Regions from separate parts of the Homo sapiens genome. Here region 1 is linked to region 2. The links are contacts of gene promoters, found by promoter capture Hi-C in human tissues and cell types (Jung and others, 2019). All regions are on one chromosome and are shown on one strand. The core of a region is centred on a gene start or on the middle of the fragment in contact, and the rest is flanking DNA. Distances in the headings are between cores, read along the strand shown. Region 1 overlaps KANSL2 (KAT8 regulatory NSL complex subunit 2). Region 2 holds the start of ADCY6 (adenylate cyclase 6).

The links. Contacts are between HindIII fragments. The study calls those that stand out against the background at their distance.
Region 1: a contact is called between a fragment that was not itself captured here and the fragment with the promoter of ADCY6 in region 2, in 2 of the 25 tissues and cell types used here (H1 embryonic stem cells and heart right ventricle).

What each region holds. Positions count from the first base shown.
Region 1 is chr12:48,672,607-48,676,920 of GRCh38, forward strand. All of the region lies in intron 4 of KANSL2 (KAT8 regulatory NSL complex subunit 2), which reads right to left. Among named protein-coding and RNA genes, the nearest start is that of SNORA2B, 7.2 kb to the left of the region's middle. The HindIII fragment of the contact is 6,757 bases long and covers 1-4,314 here.
Region 2 is chr12:48,787,364-48,791,508 of GRCh38, forward strand. ADCY6 (adenylate cyclase 6) reads right to left here and starts at 1,726. Exons shown (of 22, transcript NM_015270.5): 1 at 1,543-1,726. ADCY6-DT (ADCY6 divergent transcript) reads left to right here and starts at 1,784. Exons shown (of 3, transcript NR_110019.1): 1 at 1,784-1,864; 2 at 2,622-2,756; 3 at 2,950-3,172. RefSeq lists an enhancer at 129-673. The HindIII fragment of the contact is 15,533 bases long and covers 1-4,145 here.

The DNA of each region.
Region 1 (4,314 bases), core at 296-2,795, 110 kb before region 2:
TTTTTGTAGAGATGGGATTTCACCATGTTGTCCAGGCTTGAACCCCTGGGTTTAAGCGATGCTCCCGCCTCAGCCTCACAAAGTGCTGGAATTAAACGCATAAGCTACTGCACCTGGCAATATATTTTAATTAAAGCACTAAAGATACCAACATCAAATAATTTTTTTTTTTGAGACAGTCTTGCTCTGTCACCCAGGCTGGAGTGCAGTGGCACAACCTTGGCTCACTGCAACCTCCGCTTCCCAGGTTCAAGTGATTCTCCTGTCTCAGCCTCCCAAGTAGCTGGCATTACAGGCACCTACCACCACGCCCAGCTAATTTTTATATTTTCAGTAGAGATGGGGTTTCTCCATGTTGGTCAGGCTGGTCTTAACTCCTGACCTCAGATCGATCTTCCAGCCTCGGCCTCCCAAAGTGGTGGGATTACAGGCATGAGCCACTGTGCCCAGCCAAAATTTGTAATTGTTTAAAAAATATAGGCCTATATTGGAGCTCATATGGACCCTCAAATAACTAGTCAAAATGGGCTATACCCTGTCCTCAGCTAATTTTCTTGACAATATTCTCAAAATTCAGTACCCTAGGTTAACCCTTAATTGCCAAAGATCTGGCACGGATCCATATCAACTTGATTAAGCTTTGCTGCCAATTATAAACTAAAAGAATATCTGGCCAGGCACGGTGGCTCACACCTGTAATCCTAGCACCTTGGGAGGCCAAGGCAGGCGAATCACCTGAGGTCAGGTGTTCAAGACCAGCCTGGCCAACATGGCGAAACCCCGTCTCTACTGAAAATACGAAAATCAACCAGGTATGGTGGTGGGCGCCTATAATCCCAGCTACTCGGGAGGCTGGGGCAGGAGAATTGCTTGAACCCGGGAGGCAGAGGTTGCAGTGAGCTGAGATCGTGCCACTGCATTCCAGCCTGGGTGACAGAGCAAGACTCCATCTCAAAAAAAGAAAAAAAAAAAAAAAGAACTTCTAAAAGTTTTGCTAGTGATTAATATATGGTAGACTGTTCTCTGGCTCTGATTTATGCAATCAAAATTAAGAGATGAGGCCAGGTGTGATAGCTCACGCCTGTAATCCCAGCACTTTGGGAGGCCGAGGCAGGCAGATTGCTTGAGCCTGGGAGTTCAAGACCAGCCTGGGCTGTAACATGATAAAACCCTGTCAATACAAAAAATACAAAAGTTAGCTGGGCACGGTGGTGTATACCTGTAGTCCCAGATACTCAGGAGACTGAGGTGAAAGGATCACTTCAGCCTGGGAGTGGGAGGCTGCAGTGAGCTGAGATGGCGCCACTGCACTCCAACCTGGGTGACAGAGCAAGACCATGTCTCAAAAATAAATAAATAAATAAATAAATAAGTGAATAACTTTGAATTTTAAAAATTTTGTTTCACTCACCGTCTGATCATTACATAAATACAAAGAACAAGCTATATACCTTAAGTTTCATACTGAGTAAAAATTTTATTGAAAAGGCAAAACACATAAATTATACTAATTTTAAGTCAAAAAATTATGCTTTATTACTTTTTCGTTTTTAAGACAGAGTCTTGCTCTGTTTCCCAGGCTGCACTGAAGTGGCACAATGTTGGCTCACTGCAACCTCCGCCTCCCGGGTTCAAGCAATTCTCGTGCCTCAGCCTCCACAGTAGTTGAGATTGCAGGCGTGTGCCACCACACCTGGCTAATTTTTTTATTTTTTGTATTTTTAGTAGAGATGGGGTTTCACCATGTTTCCCAGGCTGGTCTCAAACTCCTGAGTTCAGGCATTCCACCCGACTCGGCCTCCCAAAGTGCTAGGATTACAGGCGTGAGCCACTGTGGCCAGCCTCTGCTTTATTTTTAAAAACTAGCTGTTAAGGCACTGAAATACACAGAATATACAAAATTAACTTTAGGACTGAGAGCAAGTAATTTCTGCCAAAATTTCTTCATAAATATAAACAAAAGCCAATATTACCTGTGTATAAGAGGTACTTAACTATATTCTGAAGTAAAAGTGAAAAGAAATTAAGAAAAATCAAAACATGGTTAATAAAACCAGCAAAGGGCCAGGTGTGGTGCACAAGGCCAAGGTGGGTGGATCACTTGAGGTCAGGAGTTCGAGACCAGCCTGGCCAACATGGCAAAACAGCCTCTCTACTAAAAATACAAAAATTAGCCAGGTATGGTGGCAAGCACCTATAATCCCAGCTACTCGGGAGGCTGAGGCAGGAGAATCACTTGAACCTGGTAGGCAGAGATTACAGTGAGCCGAGATCGCACCACCGCGCTCCAGCCTGGGCGACAGAACGAGACTCTGTCTCCAAAAATAAAAAATTAAATAAAATAAACAAATTAAATAAATAAATAAAAATAATATATAATAAAATAAAATTAATAAAAAATAAATTTAAAAATAAATAAAATAAAATAAAACCAGCAAATTACAGAAATGACAAAAGCTAACAGACTATCAGAAAATGTGAAAAGGCTTTAAAAATATGTAACAGTTGGCTGGGCACGGTGGCTCAAGCCTGTAATTCTAGCACTTTGGGAGACCGAGGTGGGCATACTGCCTGAGCTCTGGAGTTTGAGACCAGCCTGGGCAACATGGTGAAACCCCATCTCTACTAAAATACAAAAAAAAGAAAGAAATTAGCCGGGCACAGCGGCGTGCGCCTGTAGTCCCAGCTACTAGGGAGGCTGAGGCAGAAGAATTGCTTGAACCCAGGAGGCAAAGGTTGCAGTGAGCTGAGATCGTGCCACTGCGCTCCAGCCTGGCAACAGAGTGAGAGTCCGTCTCAAAAATAAATACATAACGGTTTCACAAGGTGACTAAGTTACATCTTCAGAAAAATGGGTTATGCCTACATTAACCTGTCTGTAACCTAAAATACTGAGGCCTTAACCTAATATAGAGTTTGTTAAAATGAAATTCACTTTTTGAATACTGAAAATGAGAAAAATAAAAATTGTTTTAAAAAATTAATTTCACTGCACCCTGTCAGAAGAGAATTTAACCAATGGTCTGGAACTGAAATGTACCTATCTGAAGCCATTACTATTAGAAGTTATTAGAAATCATTTGGTGGGGGCAGTAAGCAACCTACTAAATGAATGCCGGCTGGTTCATGTAACAGATGGCTCATTTACTTAAAGATGAATGCGCCAGACTTTCAGAGCCGGACATTAAAATTATGTACTAATTCCCCTTGCTCTGGTATGCACAAATTAAAGTCAAGGTTTTATTATTAGCATTCATCTTCAAAAAAGAGGGTCTCACCTTATATTCTACTAAATAGTCTCTCTTATAAAGGGCATTCTCCAAATTTATTTGGAAAACAATGATGAAGATTCAATAATGTGAAATAACCTTCAGCCAAACAAGTTATAGATGTTTATAGAGGTCATATGATACAATTATTATTTAAAAAAGGGAAATGAAAATTTAACAATTACCTTAAGGATAAAATTTCTTAAGTATTAGATGTTGTAGACAAGCTTTTATTTATTTTTTCTGTGTGTATGAGATAGGGTCTCCCTCTGTTGCCCAGACTGGAATGCAGTGGCACGATCACAGAGCCTCAACCTCCCAGGCTCAAGCCATCCTCCTACTTGAGCCTCTCGAGTAGTTAAGACTACAGACCACGTGCACCACCACGTCTGGCTAATTTTTAAATCTTTCGTAGAGACGGTGTCTCCCTATGTTGCCCAGGCTGGTCTCGAACTCCTGGGCTCAAGCAATCCTCCCACCTCGACCTCCCAAAGTGCTAGGATCACTGGGCGCACTGGTTCGTCCCTGTAATCCCAGCACTTTGGGAGGCTGACGGGCAGATCACCTCAGATCAGGAGTTCAAGACCAGCCTGCCAACATGGAGAAACCCCGTCTCTACTAAAAACACAAAAATCAGCTGGGTGTGGTGGCGGGCACCTGTAATCCCAGCTACTCGGGAGGCTGAGGCAGGAAAATCATTTGAACCCGGGAGGCGGAGGTTGCAGTGAGCTGAGATCGCACCATTGCACTCCAGCCTGGGTGACAAGAGTGAAACTTCGTGTCAAAAAAAAAAAGTGCGAGGATTACATGCGTAAGTCACTACGCCTGGCCATAAACAAGCTTTACTTTTAACAAAACAATTAAGTAAGTGGTTACTTTGAGGGAAATCATATATATACTAACAGGAAGTTTAAAAAATCTATGCCAACAATATTCTAGTTAGGATCAAGTCTCTAGCAACATCATAAACAATATAAAATTGCCCTTTGTGTAACAAGCAATTGAAGATAAATGTGGTTAAACTATTAGATGATTCAAAAAGTGA
Region 2 (4,145 bases), core at 476-2,975:
GCAAATGCTATCCAGGAGAATGCATGACCCTCCCAGGAACACTCTGACCCCCCCCAAGGGGATAGCTTCAGAGCTATGTAATTGTCCAACCAACTGCAACCATCCCACCCTGGGCTCCACTCCAGGCACTGCCCATCCCGCAGAACTTGCCGGCCTCCCAACATTTCTGGCACCCCATGCCAGACTGGTATGGCAGGAAACAGGGTAGAGCACTGTTCCAAGCCACAAAATTTCTCTATATGGTCCCCCAACCCACTTTGTCCAGCAACCCATCACTATGAGCCCTGGGAGCACAGACCACCTCCCTCCTCCCCAGAGTCAGGCTCCTAAGCCTTGTGCCTCTACCTTCTCCTCCCCTGAGTGTTGGTCCATTTGCACTCTCACAGATCTGCTGTTCTTCATACCACCGGCTCCCACAGCCACAGCCATGTCCCATTCAGCCTGGCAGGCCCAGGCTCAGTGCCTCCCAGACCTCAAGTCCCTCCCAAACCCTGATCAGGCTGAGACCAGAGTTTGGAACCAGCCAAGGCCAAGGCCCAGCCCTAAGGATGGCTCTGCCCACTGCCTTGCCAAGCCTTCCTGGCCACCTCCTGTCTATCCCATCCCCAGGGCCCATCTGCCCCTGCCCTCCTTGGCAAAAGGAGGCTCCAGGGGATTAAAAACGACTTCAGAAAGTTCATGGTAAGAGGCACTGCCCAGGCGGGGCCCAGCAGTGCCAGCACCACCCACCATACTCGGACATGGGCCTCAATTCTTCAATTCTGGGCCTTTCCAGATGTAGAGGAGCCTACCCAGGGCCTGTATCTGTCGGTCCAGTGCCCGCTGCCGCCTTCTCCCATCCCCAGTCCTCACTCTCCCTAAAGATTACAGAGGGCTCCCACATCACCCTTTACTATGCAACCCCCACCAGGTCCCTCCAGCTCACAGGGGTAATCTGGTAAGGAGAGGATATGGGCAAAGAGGCTCCCACGCCTGATTCCACCTCTAGCCTTTCAGTCGAGCCCCAGAGTCTGCTTTGAATAAAGTCAGCTCCCCTGCCCACCCTGCGGCAGGCCTTGGGGGATGTGGGGAGCCGACCCCACCCCTTTCATTCCCAAGGTTTTGGGTGAGGGGAAGGAGAGGGACTCCCGCAGACAGAGGGCATCCCTCCCTCTGCCCAGGCCGGTTCCTCTCCCCTAAATGGAATCTCCCCCAAACTCGGAGACACCCCACAGCCCCGCAGCAAAAAACTCAGGCCAGCCCCTCCCCCAGTACGTGCCAGATCCTCCTGGCCTCCGGGCCAGCCTGGAACTCGCCCCGTGGAGGGAGGCAGGCGGCGGGCGACGGGGGTGGCGAGCGCCGGACCTAGGAGTCCTCGATCCCACTGCCTCCATGACTTCCCTTTGCCAACCCCAACTCCCTCGGGCAACACTGCCGAGACGACCCGTCCAAGGCTTCGGCGCCCCCACCCACAAACTCTTGTCGAGAGCCGCTCGGGTGCGTTCCAATCCTGGCGCACCGGGAGCCCGAGCGGCCACTTCCCCTAGCCCTCAGCGCGCTCACCTGCCGGCCCGGCTCCGCGCCTGCCCTGGGCCCCCGCCCCGCCGCCCCCGCGGGCTCCGGCCGGCCGGCCGGCCGTCCCGCGGTCCTCCGAGCCCGCGCGTCCTGGCCGTCCCGCCCGCCGTCCGCCGTCCGCCGTCCGCCCGGCCCTCGCCCCCTCCCGAGCTGTCCAGCGCAGCCGCCCTCTACCCCGGATCCAGAAGTCCCCTCCCCGCTGGCTCCCGGACTCCCCGCCTTAAAGGCACAAGCTCCTTTTGTCTGGGCATCCCCCTCCCCCTCCCCAGAAGTGGGGGCCGAGTTGCCCACTCCCCTTCCTAGCAGCGGGGTAGGGGCGGAGGAGGCCAAATAATGGGACCCCTCCCTCCGCGCGCCCCCTCCTCTCCTCCGGCCGCTTCCTCCCCCAGTCCTGGGAAGACAAGCAGCTACTGTTCTGGGATCAAGACCCCGCGGGGAGGGGACCTCGCAGCCCGGTCCCCTTCCCTTCACCCCGGCCGCCTCCTCCGGCATTCCTCTCCCGCCCTCACCCCGGGGGTCCCCGAGCGCGCCCGCAAACCCACCCCTCACGGCTACATCCCCCGCCCCGCCCACCGAGGGTCGCCTTCCTTCCTGTCAGGGTCCCAGGGGTTGGGCCGGCGCCCCGCGCCCACTCTTCATCCCCAATTCCTCCCTGCCCCTGCCCCAGCCCCAGCCCCCACCTAGCCATTCCCGCCCTGCCTGTCACGGCCCTGCGCCCTCCCGCGGGAACTCAGTTTAATAATTAATTAAGCTCTCATTCCACAAGGCGCCAGGTGTGTGCGGCCTGCTTGCCCGCACACCACTTCTTTCCTCTTCCCCCCAGTCTCTGGGGCAGCGGCCCCGAGGCGAACCTCGGGGCCCAGTGGAGGGACCCAGGGAAGGGGCACTCTCCCTGCCGCCCCCACAACCCCCCGCCCTACTCTCTGGGAGCCCCTCCCCCGCACCTGCCAACTTGCAGCCTCACCCCCAGGCATCTTTTACCCAAAGGGCTGTGCTTCTCTGCTGGGGGTTGGAGGGGCTACTGGGGTGCATTGCTAAGTGCACGAACTGAGAAACTGGGTCTTTAGTTATTTCCAGCACGGAGCAGCTGCCCAAGTTACCTGGGAGATGGGAAAATCGTGTGAAAGCTGGTTAACCCTTTGAGGATTAGAGTAATGGTGGAAGCAGAAAGGAGAAGGAGTTTCACTCCAGGATGTACGTAGGTGAGTGTGACTTTAGAGGGGGTGCCATTCTGGAGCTGGGAAGAAGGCAGCCTGCCTGGCTTCCTTTTGAGGCCCCCTCTCCATTCCCTCAGTCAGACCTCTAGCTCCTCCTTCCAATTCAGCCCTTCCCCAAGCAGCCTATTCCCCACCCAAGATCCCAAGACCTAGGTATCTGAAGATGCTTCCTCCTCAGGACCAGCCCTCCCTGCAGTCCTGTCCTTCAAGACTCAAGTCTTGTCCACTCCAAATCACCACTGGGATTCCTAAGTCCAGGACAGAGCTTCAGGCAAGGAAAAGAAGAGTTGGGAAAGCCAGTTTCCAACATTTATCAGCCACGTGTACCTGCAAACTATATACCTTGGGTAAATCATCAATCTCTTGAAATGGGAATAAAACCATCTGCCTTGTCTTTCTTACAGGGTTTTCAGAATCAGATAGAGAAATGTTTGTTATAATGTTTGAAAATGGGAAAGTGGTACTTTCTCATTTCTCAGTTGTGCAGGCCTGGCCTGCAATTTGATCTTTGGGGCCTCTTTGCCTGACTTCTCACTTCAAAATTTCCTTAAAAATTGTTTTTGCTGGCCGGGCGCGGTGGCTCACGCCTGTAATCCCAGCACTTTGGGAGGCCGAGGCGGGTGGATCACAAGGTCAAGAAATCGAGACCATTCTGGCCAACATGGTGAAACCCCGTCTCTATTAAAAATTAGCTGGGCGTGGTGGCGGGCACCTGTAGTCCCAGCTACTCGAGAGGCTGAGGCAGGAGAATCGCTTGAACCCGGGAGGCGGAGGTTGCAGTGAGCCGAGATCACGCCATTGCACTCCAGCCTGGGAGACAGAGCGAGACGCCGTCTCAAAAAAAAAAAATTGTTTTTGCTATCAAAATTTCCTCTTCAAAATACCTGAATCAGGTTATCTACCACTTACGCTTAGAATAATGTGCTCATGAGCCACATGGGGAAAATGCAAAAAACAATTGAGATAAATATGCGTTAAAAAATGAAATTTTAGGCCGGGTGCGGTGGCTCATGCCTGTAATCCCAGCACTTTGGGAGGCTGAGGCGGGCGGATCACAAGGTCAGGAGATCAAGATCATCCTGGCTAACACAGTGAAACCCCATCTCTACTAAAAACACACAAAAAATTAGCTGGGCGTAGTGGGGGGCGCCTGTAGTCCCAGCTACTCGGGAGGCTGAGGCAGGAGAATGGCGTGAACCCGGGAAGCGGAGCTTGCAGTGAGCGGAGATTGCGCCACTGCAGTCCGCAGTCCGGCCTGGGCGACAGAGCGAGACTCCGTCTCAAAAAAAAAAAAAAAAATTAAATTTTAGCTGGGCATGGTGGCTCATTCCTTTAATCCCAGCACTTTGGAAGGCCAAGGCAGGCAGATCACGA